Linked DNA regions of Homo sapiens: region 1 is linked to region 2. The links are contacts of gene promoters, found by promoter capture Hi-C in blood cells and fetal thymus (Javierre and others, 2016). All regions are on one chromosome and are shown on one strand. Each heading gives the region's core, a stretch centred on a gene start or on the middle of the fragment in contact. The rest is flanking DNA. Distances are from core to core; before and after follow the strand shown. Region 1 holds the start of LDLRAD2 (low density lipoprotein receptor class A domain containing 2). Region 2 holds the start of RAP1GAP (RAP1 GTPase activating protein).

Region 1 (5,931 bases), core at 3,246-5,745, 140 kb after region 2:
TGGCATTAGGAATATTCCTGAATGCCATCTGGGGCACCTAGGAGTAATATAACTATACCCGCAAGGGGCCAGAATCCCATAAATATACTCACCCCCAGCCCTAAACCCAAATCAGCCTCTCCCTAGCCAGATTTCAAAACACCTGTGGCCACCTGATATGAAGCGAGGTGTGATGAAGGAGAGGTTGGGAGTGGAAAGAGAAAAAAGTCTGAACTAACTGTGGTTAAAATATCTTATGTTTGCAAAATTTTTATTTTAATTTATTTATTTTTACTTTTTTGAGACAGTCTCACTCTGTCGCCCAGGCTGGAGTGCAATGGCACAACCTCAGCTCACTGCAACCTCCGCCTCCTGGATTCAAGCAATTCTCCTGCCTCAGCTTCCCAGGTAGCTGGGAATCCAGGCACATACCACCACACCTGCTAATTTTTGTATTTTTAGTAGAGATGGGGTTTTACCATGTTGGCCAGGCTGGCCTCAAACTCCTGACCTCAGGTGGTCTGCCTGTCTTGGCCTCCCAAAGTGCTGGGTTTACAGGGTGTTACAGGGGTTACAGGGGTGAGCCACTGCACATGGCCTATTTTTATTTTTTTAATTTTTTATTTAATTAATTAATTGTTTTTGAGACAGAGTCTCGCTATATCACCCAGGTGGGAGTGCAATGGCTCAGTCTCAGTTTACTGCAACCTCCGCCTCCCGGGTTCAAGCAATTCTGCTGCCTCAGCCTCCCGAGTATCTGGGATTACAGGCGCCCACCACCACGCCCGGCTAATTTTTGTATTTTTAGTAGAGATGAGGTTTCACCATATTGGTCAGGCTGGTCTTGAACTCCTGACCTCAGGCAATCCACCTGCCTCGGCTTCCCAAAGTTCTGGGATTACAGGCGTGAGCCACCGCGCCTGGCCACGCCCAGCTAATTTTTGTATTTTTAGTAGAGATAGGTTTTCACCAGTTTGGCCAGGCTGGTTTTGAATTCCTGATCTCAGGTGATCCACTCACCTTGGCCTCCCAAAGTCCTGGGATTACAGGCGTAAGCCACCACTCCCAACCCTATTTGTATTTTTTAAAAATTTTATTTGGCTTGAGGCACAGTATCAAGAGGTCCTGAGAACATGTACCCCTCATGTTTGCAAAATTTTAAAAAATTATGGCAAGAAAATACATAACAGAGCTTACTATCTTAACCATTTTTTTCTGAGATGGATCGGCTCTGTTGCCTAGGCTGGAGTGCAGTGTCATGATCATAGCTCACTGTAACCTCAAGCTTCTGGGCTCAAGTGATCCTTCTGCCTTAGCCTCCTGAGTAGCTGTAGTATAGCTAAGAGTGTAGGCACCACCTAATTTTTTAATTTTAACTTTAATTTTTTGTAGAGACAGGGTTTCGCTATGTTGCCAGGTTGGTCTTTTTTGTTTTTGTTTTTGAGGCGGAGTCTCACTCTGTCGCCCAGGCTGGAGTGCAGTGGCTCGATCTCGGCTCACTGCAACTTCTGCCTCCTGGGTTCAAGAGATTCTCCTGCCTCAGCCTGCCGAGTAGCTGGGATTACAGGTGTGTGCCACCACGCCTGGCTAATTTTTTGTATTTTTTTGTAGAGATTGGGCTTCACCATGTTGGCCAGGCTGCTGTCGAACTCCTGACCTCAGGCAAAGTGCTGGGATTACAGGCCCAGGTTGGTCTTGAACTCCTGGTTTCAAGCGATCCTCTCACCTCAGGCTCCCAAAGTGTTGAGATTAAAGGTGTGAGCCTTGCACCTGGCCAGTCTTAGCCATTCTAAGTGTACAGTTCAGTAGTGTTAAGTATTTTCACAGTACTGTGCAACAGATCTCTAAAACATTTTCATCTTGCAAAACTGAAAGTTTATAACCATTCTTACTTTTGCAAATTTTATGAAGACATATAATCCCGGCCGGGCGCGGTGGCTCACTCCGGTAATCCCAGCACTCTGGGACGCCGAGGTGGGCGGATCACCTGAGGTCAGGAGTTCGAGACCAGCCTGACCAACATGGTGAAACCCCCATCTCTACTAAAAATAAAAAATTAGCTGGGTGTGGTGGCACACACCTGTAGTTCCAGCTACTCGGGAAGCTGAGGCAGGAGAATCTCTTGAACCCGGGAAGCAGAGGTTGCAGTGAGCTGATATCATGCCACTGCACTCCAGCCTGGGAGGTTGCAGTTAGCTGAGATCATGCCACTGCACTCCAGCCTGGGCAACAGAGTGAGACTCCATCTCAAAAAAAAAAAAAAACAAACAAAAGGTCGGGCGCGGTGGCTCACGCCTGTAATCCTAGCACTTTGGGAGGCTGAGGTGGGTGGATCACAAGGTCAGGAGATCAAGACCAGTCTGGCTAACACGGTGAAACCCCATCTGTACTAAAAATACAAAAAATTAGCCGGGCGTGATGGCGGGTGCCTGTAATCCCAGCTACTTGGGAGGCTGAGGCAGGAGAATGGCGTGAACCCGGGAGGCGGAGCTTGCAACAAACCAAGATTGCGCCACTGCACTGCAGCCTGGGCGACAGAGCAAGACTCAGTCTCAAAACAAAAACAAAAACAAAAACAAAACAAAACAAAAACCATATAATCCCATGCAGGTGATGAGTTCTGAAGTTTAAGCTTCAGTGGGCTTCATGATAAATTCATTCTTGCTGAGGGAAGATTTGAGTCTTTTTGGAGTTCCCCAAGGTACAGATTTGGACATCATACACTGTAGGAAATCAAGGTTGCATCAAATGACCGCTCCAGGAGGGAGAGCTGTTAGGGAATAATAGGTCCAGAGGTGTTTGTTTTGGGTTTTTTTTTTTTTTTATTTTATCGCCCAGGTTGGAGTGCAGTGGTGCAATCTCGGCTCACTGCAATCTCCGCCTCCCGGGTTCAAGCGATTATTGTGCCTCAGCCTCTGTGCCACAACGCCCGGCTAATATTTGTATTTATAGTAGAGATGGGGTTTCACCATGCTGGCCAGGCTGCTCTCGAATTCCCAACCTCAGGTGATCGCCTGCCTTGGCCTCCCAACGTGATGGGATTACAGGTGTGAGCCACTGTGCCCGGCCAGGTCCAGAGGTCTTAACCTTCTCATGGATTCCTGGGATTTTGAGGTGGTGTCTCAGGCACTGCCAATTTGGGCTGCTTAGCTCCTCCCCTCCCCCACACTTGAAACATCTGCTTAAATAATAACGATGACATTAATGATCATCATTCAAGCTGAAATACATTGGTTACTTTACTACATGATAGACACTATTCCAAGTACCCCACTTGTATTAAGTTACTTAATTCTTTTTTTTTTTTTTTTTTTGAGATGAAGTCTCACTCTGTTGCTCAAGCTGGAGTGCAGTGGCACAATCTCAGCTCACTGCAACCTCCACCTCCCGGATTCAAGCGATTCTCCTGCCTCAGCCTCCTGAGTAGCTGGGACTACAGGAATGCACCACCATGCCCGGCTAATTTTTTTTGTATTTTTAGTAGAGATGGGGTTTCACTATGTTGGCCAGGCTGGCCTTGAACTCCTGACCTTGTGATCCACCCACCTCTGCCTCCCAAAGTGCTGGGATTACAGGCATGAGCCACCAAGCCAGGCCAAGTTACTTAATTCTTACAATGCAACTATGTGGTTGGAATTAATCATTATCCCATTTTCCAGAGAAGGATGCCAGGGCTTGAAAAGCTTCAGTTTTATAGATAAAGGTTCCTTGTAACATACCTTTTGAAAAAAAATTGTTCTACTAATAACACGTTTTGAAAAAGTCTGAATTAGTCCAGGGTATTTATTTTACACATGGGAAAGTAAAATCCAGAAAAAGGGGTCATTTGTTCAATGCCACACACTTATTCTTTCATTATTTCCTGGGCGCCTGCCTTGTGCCAGTGACTGTGCTATGACATAAGGGTTCAGAGGTAAACAAGATACTCATGGAATATAATTTTAGTGGAGGCCAGTGGACAATATATACAAGAAGAAATGAATAGGCAAAATAATTCCAGACAGTGCTGGGATGATACATTTGAGATGTGATTGAGTGACAAAGAGAGAGAGTGTTAATTTAGTTGGAGAGGTGGTCAGGAGAGTGTGGTCTGTGGAGGTAACATGTGAGCCACAACCTGATGACCTGAAGAAGTCAGCCGTGCACTGCTATGGGGGGACAACACTCCAGACAGAGGGATCTATGAGTGCAAAGGCCCTGAGGCAGGAATGGCTTGTTAGTAATACAGCAGACTCCTGGTCCAGTGCTCCTTCTCTGCCTGCTGCTCTCTAGGCCCTCAGAGAGGCTCCTTTGGTGTCCTGGACCTCCCTCAAGCTCAGTCCCTAAGGGGCCAGCTGATCTAGGAAGGTAGCAGATCTGGCTTCCTGTGGGTCCTCCTCCCAGAAGCCCTATGGCTGAACCGGATCTGAGTTTCCTGGTTCCTGTCTGGCAGAAGGGGAGCAGATCTCCTCCCTGCCTCCTCTCCCCAGGCTCTAGCCCTTGCTCCAAATCTCCATGGCAACCCCTGGACACAGTTCTGAACCAAATGAAGAGGATCTGGAAGGCAAAGCACTAAGATCATAGTGAAGACTTGCCTCCCCCTTCTCCTTGTGTCCCACCAGCCTCCCTGCTGGCCTGACCAGGCCCCATACTCCAGTCTCCCCAGAGACCCCAAGCTGAAGATTCTGTGGGTCTGCCCCATTGCTGGGCACAGCAGAGCCTGGATGGAGGCTTGTTGTCTTCTGCAGTTGCCCCAAAGGTTGCTCTTGCTGGGGGCAGCCGCCCTGACTGCAACTGCTTTGGAGACAGGTAAGTATCAGGGGGCTTGGTTGGGGCACCCAGAAGACTTGGGCCCCCACCATCCTTAGAGACTATGTTTCCCCAGTCAGCACTCATCCTGCTGGGCTGAGACCTTTTGAGCTGGGGGAGGCTGGGAAACTGTGTCTGGTCTTGCTTGGCATCCCCAAATCCAACCCAAAGCCTTCTGGAAGGCTTGGATCTGCCAGTCACCTAGAAGCAGGAGTCTGGGAGTGGGCAGGACAGCCCTCAGGGCCTGCTTTGCAAAACTCTGTAGGCTTCGGATTCAGAGAAGCTGCATTTACACACTCTGCCACTTCTTATGTTTGTACCTTTGAGATCATTGTTTCAACTCTCTGAATTTCTTTGGCAGTAAAATGAAAATAATAGGCCCTTGCCCCTTAAGGGACTATGATTATTGGCATATAAGATGAGATAAGTCATGCAAGGCACTTCATAATACCTGGCACATAAAAGGTGCCAAATTCCCGGCTGGGCGCAGTGGCTCACGCCTGTAATCCCAGCACTCTGTGATGCCGAGGCGGGCGGATCATGAGGTCACGAGATCAAGACCATCCTGGCCAACATGGTGAAACCACATCTCTACTAAAAATACAAAAATTAGCTGGGCATGGTGGCATGTGCCTGTAATCCCAGCTACTTGGGAGGCTGAGGCAGGAGAATCGCTTGAACCAGGGAGTCGGAGGCTGCAGTGAGCCGAGATTGCGCCACTGCACTCCAGCCTGGCAACAGAGAGAGACTCCGTCTCAAAGAAATAAAAAAAAAAAAGGGTGCCCAATTCCCTTACTCTCTAAACTCCATGCCTGCCCTGTGTACCTTCAGGGTAGGCTCTGGCTTTAGCAGAGAAATACCAAATATTGGAAAGTGCTCCCACATCCTGAGCTCTGATGAAGGATTTTTTCCTCAAAGACCCACATCCTGGCTGGTCCTCAAGTACCCACTGGTCCCTATCTTGCACCAGAAAACCCACCTCCTCTTTCCTCTCTGTGCTTACAGAAATCAGGGCTACTTTGAGTACTTGCACATCTTCTCATTTAATCCTCACAACAACCCTGTACCAGTGAGGATGTTTTGGGCTGTAAGTAACAGATAACAAACTAAATGGGGCTTAAATGGTAGGATATTTGCTATTTCAGTTAAGAGTGGTCATAGGTG
Region 2 (5,434 bases), core at 1,191-3,690:
GTGTGTACACACGTGCCAGCATCTGGATGGTGTGACTCTCAGTGCTTGTGTGTCAGGCAGAGTCGGGGGCAGGGGTCTTGGCCTGGGTGTGCCCGTGTGTTCCTGTGTCTGGGTCTCAGGGTATCTGTCAGTCTAACTGTATTTGCGTTTGTGTCTGGCCGTGCTCAGGTCTCGGTTGTTTGCACAGCACATGCGGCTGCTCAGCAGCCTCTGACAGCCAGGACAAAGGCCTCCGTAGACAGATGGCAGCATGGAGGACAGATCTGCCCGAGGAGTCCTCAAAGGGCCTCTTGGCCCCAGAATTTGACAGCAGGGCAGGGGCAGGGCCAGGTGAGAGGGAGGTGGAGGCCCTGCTGTGGGAGCCTGAGGCCTAAGTGGCAGAGACCTCTCTCCCTGCTGCCCTCCAAGAGGCCAAAGGAAGAATCCTTCTTGTCTCCTAAGGGTGGAAGGTAGTTAGAGCCAGGAGAGGGGCCTCCTGAGACCCCTGCCAGGCAGGCACCTTGGGAAGAAGAGAAGAGGAGAGGGCTTTGCCCAAGCAAGCTGGGAAGGTCCCAGGGTGAAAGCACCATTATGGTGCTCCACGGGACAACCCTCCCTCCATGGGAAGGGGTGGCAAGGCAAGCCTAGGACTCTGGACCCTCTCCTCAACCTGACCCAGCTTCCAGCCACAGGCACCCTCACCTCCTGGCAGCAAAGGGGAGCAGGTCCACATGGACCACTCCACCACGGCGTTCACCCTTCCTCCTCTCCACCGCTGTGGAGATCTTCTCCCATCAAGAGTCAGAGTACCACGATTCTAGACCTTGCTGAAGGTGACTAGGTGACCTCAGGCAGTTCATTTAGCCTCTCCGAGCCTCAGTTTCCTCACCTGTGCAATGGAGGCTTCAGCGCCTGCCCTGAAATATTGCTGTGAAGGGGGAAATTGCTCGTGCCACCTGAGGATTAATCATTACCCTGGAACCCTTCCCAAGGCCATCAAGGAACACGCACCCCTTACCAGACCTTCCAGCTGCTGGGGGCTCTCAGAGTGAGGCTGAGGTCATGGAGAAGGGAATGGGGGGCCCCCATGGCCAGCTGGACCTGATCACTGCCTCCCCACTCAGCCACAGCCCTCAGGGCCCTGTGCCAGTCCAGAAGCCCATTCAGGGACACCTTTGGCCAATGTTCTGTTTCATCTGCGAGGCAACCTTCCCCAGTGCCCCAACCATAGCGTTTTCCCCCAAACACCCTCAGGAAGGAGGGACCACTACCTGTGCAGGGGGGGCCAGGAGCCTCCTGAGAGCCTCATATGGGGAGGAAGTGGTACCATCTCACCCCCATTGCCTTTCTCTCCTACTTCCACCTGGCCAGCTTCCCTCAGTGCCCCTCCTGCCTCAGTGCCCCTTCCCTCAGTGTCCTTCCTGCCTGCCGCCCCAGGGGCCTGACCTCTGACTTGGCAGGGAGGGGAATGGAGCCCGGGGACAGAGGCCAATGAGCCCTGAGAACAGTGGATGTTCTTCCTGACCCCACCACCGGGCCTGTGCTATGACCCCAACAAGGACTCCGAGGGCATGCACAGGCTGGGGTCTGTTATGGTAGGGAGGGGGCCGCTCACCTCCGGAGACTGTGTGTGTGTGCAGGTGTGCGTACACAAGGTTTCTTCCCCAAGCCCAGGCGCCCCGCAGCTGGCACCAAACCCTGCAGGGCACGGAAACCGCCCCGTGAATTCCCACCGAGTCCTCAGATCCTGCCGAGCCAGGGGAGGCGACGAGGGGGCGCCCAACTTCGTGACGCGTGTGCCCCGCTCTGCCGCGGGGGTCAGGGACAGGGGAATGCGTCCTGTCTCTGGGGATGCAAGGACATCACCGCCCTCCCCGCTCAGGGTCCTTGATCTGAGGCCCCCACTTCCCTCCTCTGAGGACAGGAGCGCCACCCTCTGGGGGGCGCTAGGGCTTGGGCCCCTCCCCAGGGATGGAGGAAACGCGCCCACTTCCCACAGTCCCTCCTCTAAACCCCAGGCGCCCCCACCTCGAGGTGGGCGGAAAACTGGACTCCCCACCCACCCAGGGGGGTGGGACCAAAGCCCCCTGGCCGCGGCCTGGACCAAGTCCAACAGGCTGGGGGTTCAGCCGGCTCAGTCCAGGCCTCCCCCCACTTCTCCAGCTGCTGTCAAGACCGGGCTGCGCGAGCCCAGCTGCGCCCACCCCTCGCCCCTGGAGACCCGGGTCCCCCACGCGTTCGCCCCCACCCTCCGTCCCCGCCCGCCCGCGCGGGGTCTTCGCTGCGAGCCGACGGGAGTCTGGACACCTCTGTCCCCTTCCCCTTTCCAGGGCCGCAGCCCTGGCGGGGCGCACTCACCCAAGGGCCTGGGCCGGGGGCGTCCTGGGCTCGGCACTCTGGTGCCCGCGGCCGCCGCTGCAGCTCTGCTCAGATGCGGCCGGCGCTCGCCGCCGCCGCAGTTCGGGGAGGGGGACGTCACATGACCGCGGAGCGCTCCTTCCCCGGCGCCGCTCCCCACTCACTGCGGAGCCCAAGCCGCGGGCGCGGGAGCGGCGGGGAGGCCCCCGCCCTGCCGCCCCGCCCCGCCGCAGGTCCTGGAGGAGGGTTCTCGGTGCCCCCATTTTACAGGTGGGGAAACTGAGGACCAGAGAGGGGCAGGGACTGGCTCAAGGTTACACAGCTAGACAGTGGCAGAACCTGGGCGACAGCCCAGCTGTCCAGGCAACAGCTCATGCTCCAAGGGGACTGGGACAACTTCTGGATCAAGTGGAGACGTCGGGATAGGTGGGGCCCACGGCCCCCATGGGCTCCGCTTGTCTGCAGGCGCGGGAGGAAGGCGCACAGGCTTCGCTGGGCGAGAAAGCTGCTGTGCCCTGGCTGACGCCCTCCTCACCCGGGCGCTCGGCGCGCTTCCTGGCAGAGGCCACGCGGTTGACCCTCGCCAGCCCATTCGCGGCTCTTGGACTTTGTCTCTGGACTGGGCAGCTCGCCCCCGCCCCAGCCTAACCCGGGCCCAGGGCGGGTGTGGGGAGGGGAGCCACAGGCTACGGAGAAGTGGAAGGGAGGCACCCGGAAGAGAGTGGGATCAGAACAAGAGTGAAAACCCAGGCAGGGAGGGGGCGGCAGAGATCACCTCGGCCTGACTTCCAAGGCCCAGGGAGAGTTAGAGACTTGCCCAAGGTCCACAGCAAGTGAGCGGCCTGCCCACTCGAGTCCCTTCTTTGATGGTCAACAGAGCCTGAGGCTCCTGTGCCCCACTCCCCACCAAGGGGGAGCCCTCACCCACACCTCTTTCTGTTCTCCACTGAGCTCCCTCCCCGGGGAACAGCCCACATGAAGCAAAGAAACACGCAGTGGGTCGGCAAGGCCAGAACTGGGGACAACGGGTGAGGGGTATGGTTGGTGGCTCCAAGGTCATGAACTCGTCACAGAACACTCGTGTTCCAGGGGGATCTCTGAAATCTCTGGATCTCACCCCAATGTTCTAAGAACTGGGAAAACAGGCTGCAAAAGGTACAAAGACAGACCTCTTTCTCAACCATTTCGAATTGGTGGGTCAAGCCGACAGGGCCCTCCAAGGTCAACAAGTCCAATAGGCCCACTTGACAGATAATATTTAGGGAGGGGAAAGTCCAAGACATGTACTCAATATATTTCTTGAGCATCTACTGTGTGCTTAAAACCACAACTGTTACTTCCAGCTCCCACTATTTTCCCGGCCACATGGGCTGCATTTCACAAAAGGAAAGATCCGAGGTCTTCAGCAACTCTTACATCAGCCTCTGGAGGATCTGAGACATGCAAGCCTCCGGGTTTTCAGTCCCATAGGGGCTGGGGACCAGAGCCATGTTTTCCGGTCAAGACTCTAATCCCCGTGGAGAAAAGGTGAATAAGGGGGAATAGCAGGAAATGCCCCACCCTCTTCCCACGCATCCACCCACCTGTGAAAGGGCAGAGGGGAAGGTAGATCAGGCACTTGTTCTTTTCAGTCCTCCCTCCAGCAAGCTTCCCTAGCTGTATATGGGAAAGAGACCCCAGCCCAGGGGGGTTTCTCAAACTTCTAAGAGTGCAGGAGCGGTCTGTAGACTCAGATTCAGATTCAGTGGGCCTGGAGCCTGAGCTCCTGCATTTATAATGAAGCTTCGTGGCTGCAGACATCCTGAGCAGCACTGGTAGTACAAGGCAAGTTGTCAGGGCAGGAGGAAGACTCCTGCGGTATCACATGCTCACTCATGGACCACCCAACCCGGGGGGCCCTTTGATCTCCTGCCTAGGAATACACCAGGACTATATAGTTGGCTCAAACACTGTAATAAAAAGGCAAGAAGTTGAATGAGGCTGGCCGAGGCGCTTCTGGGGATGATGGTGAAGGGACTGTGGGGCATAGCAACTGCCCTAGACAGGTATGTCCTGCAGGGCTCTGGTCCTGGGAGATGCTTGGTCAAATACATCCTACTTAGGAAATGCCAGCAGAATGCCTATAGACCTTCAAGGGCAGCATGTACTGGGTGGGGCTGGCTCATCTTCAGCAGGGGCGGGGCTCACAGATCTCAGAAGTACATGGATTCCAGGATCCTTTTAAGCACCATCTCTCTACCCATCCTCTCGCTTTTTTATGCATTGCTCCCTGAATTCAATTCTGAGCACAATCTTCATGCTTCTTGCTTCCCTAACTCCTGTTCCAAAAGGGCCCCTTTCTCCTCCACGCTTTAAGACAGAGACCCTCAATTCTGGCCAGGCATTGCTGATGGTACATCCCAGAGTGCTGAGTGGAGACAAAGGTGTCCCACCTGAGCTGGAGGGAGGGGGCAGATGGAGGCACTGGAGATGCAGAAATGCAGCAAGCCAAGGGGTACAGCTGTGTGACCTCTTCATGGTCCCATAACCTTCTGGAGTCTGGACCTGCAGACTCCAAGGTCCTTAAGAGCTCAAGAGCCTATTAGCCTGGGGGTACTGAATGTCCCCGACCCTGGCTGAGCAGACCAAAGAACGAAGTCTCTTCTATGCCAGGCGTCTCTATTTCTTCTTTATAATCAAGGAGCTTTTCAATTACAGCATTTTCCCCTTTACAGAAAACCTCCCTCAATGCAAGAGGCTTATAATCTCCCATGTGTCCTGGGGGGCACCATTCTGAGACTGTCAGGGCCCCTGGCGAGGAGGCAGCACGTGCCGTAGGGGGCTGGGCACAGAGCTTGGCATGCAGCCTAGCTACTGAGGGGGAAGATTGGACAAAGGCCCCGGAGCTTTGCTTTCCCTGTCCTATTTCAATCCAAACCACTCAGGACTGACCACTCACGCATGGCTGCCTCTGGGCACAAGCCTTGTCTCAGACACTTAATACATTGCGACCCAGCCACCATCTCTGTGCTCCCTATCACTGAGAAATGAAAGCTGGCTTTAAAAATCTGGCATCCAAAAAGGCTGGAGAACGAAAACATGGGTGGCACCACGGTAA

What was found. Contacts are between HindIII fragments. The CHiCAGO score rates a contact against its expected background, and 5 or more counts as called.
Region 1: the fragment with the promoter of LDLRAD2 here is called in contact with the fragment with the promoter of RAP1GAP in region 2 in 1 of 17 cell types (erythroblasts); the score reaches 5.6 in erythroblasts.

The regions. Positions count from the first base shown.
Region 1 is chr1:21,807,770-21,813,700 of GRCh38, forward strand. It overlaps LDLRAD2 (low density lipoprotein receptor class A domain containing 2), which reads left to right and starts at 4,496. Exons shown (of 5, transcript NM_001013693.3): 1 at 4,496-4,767. The coding sequence starts at 4,683. RefSeq lists a silencer at 2,982-3,132 and an enhancer at 4,287-4,581. The HindIII fragment of the contact is 31,080 bases long and covers 3,661-5,931 here.
Region 2 is chr1:21,666,917-21,672,350 of GRCh38, forward strand. RAP1GAP (RAP1 GTPase activating protein) reads right to left here and starts at 2,441. Exons shown (of 25, transcript NM_002885.4): 1 at 2,338-2,441. RefSeq lists a silencer at 2,363-2,512 and an enhancer at 3,161-4,360. The HindIII fragment of the contact is 8,301 bases long and covers 1-3,982 here.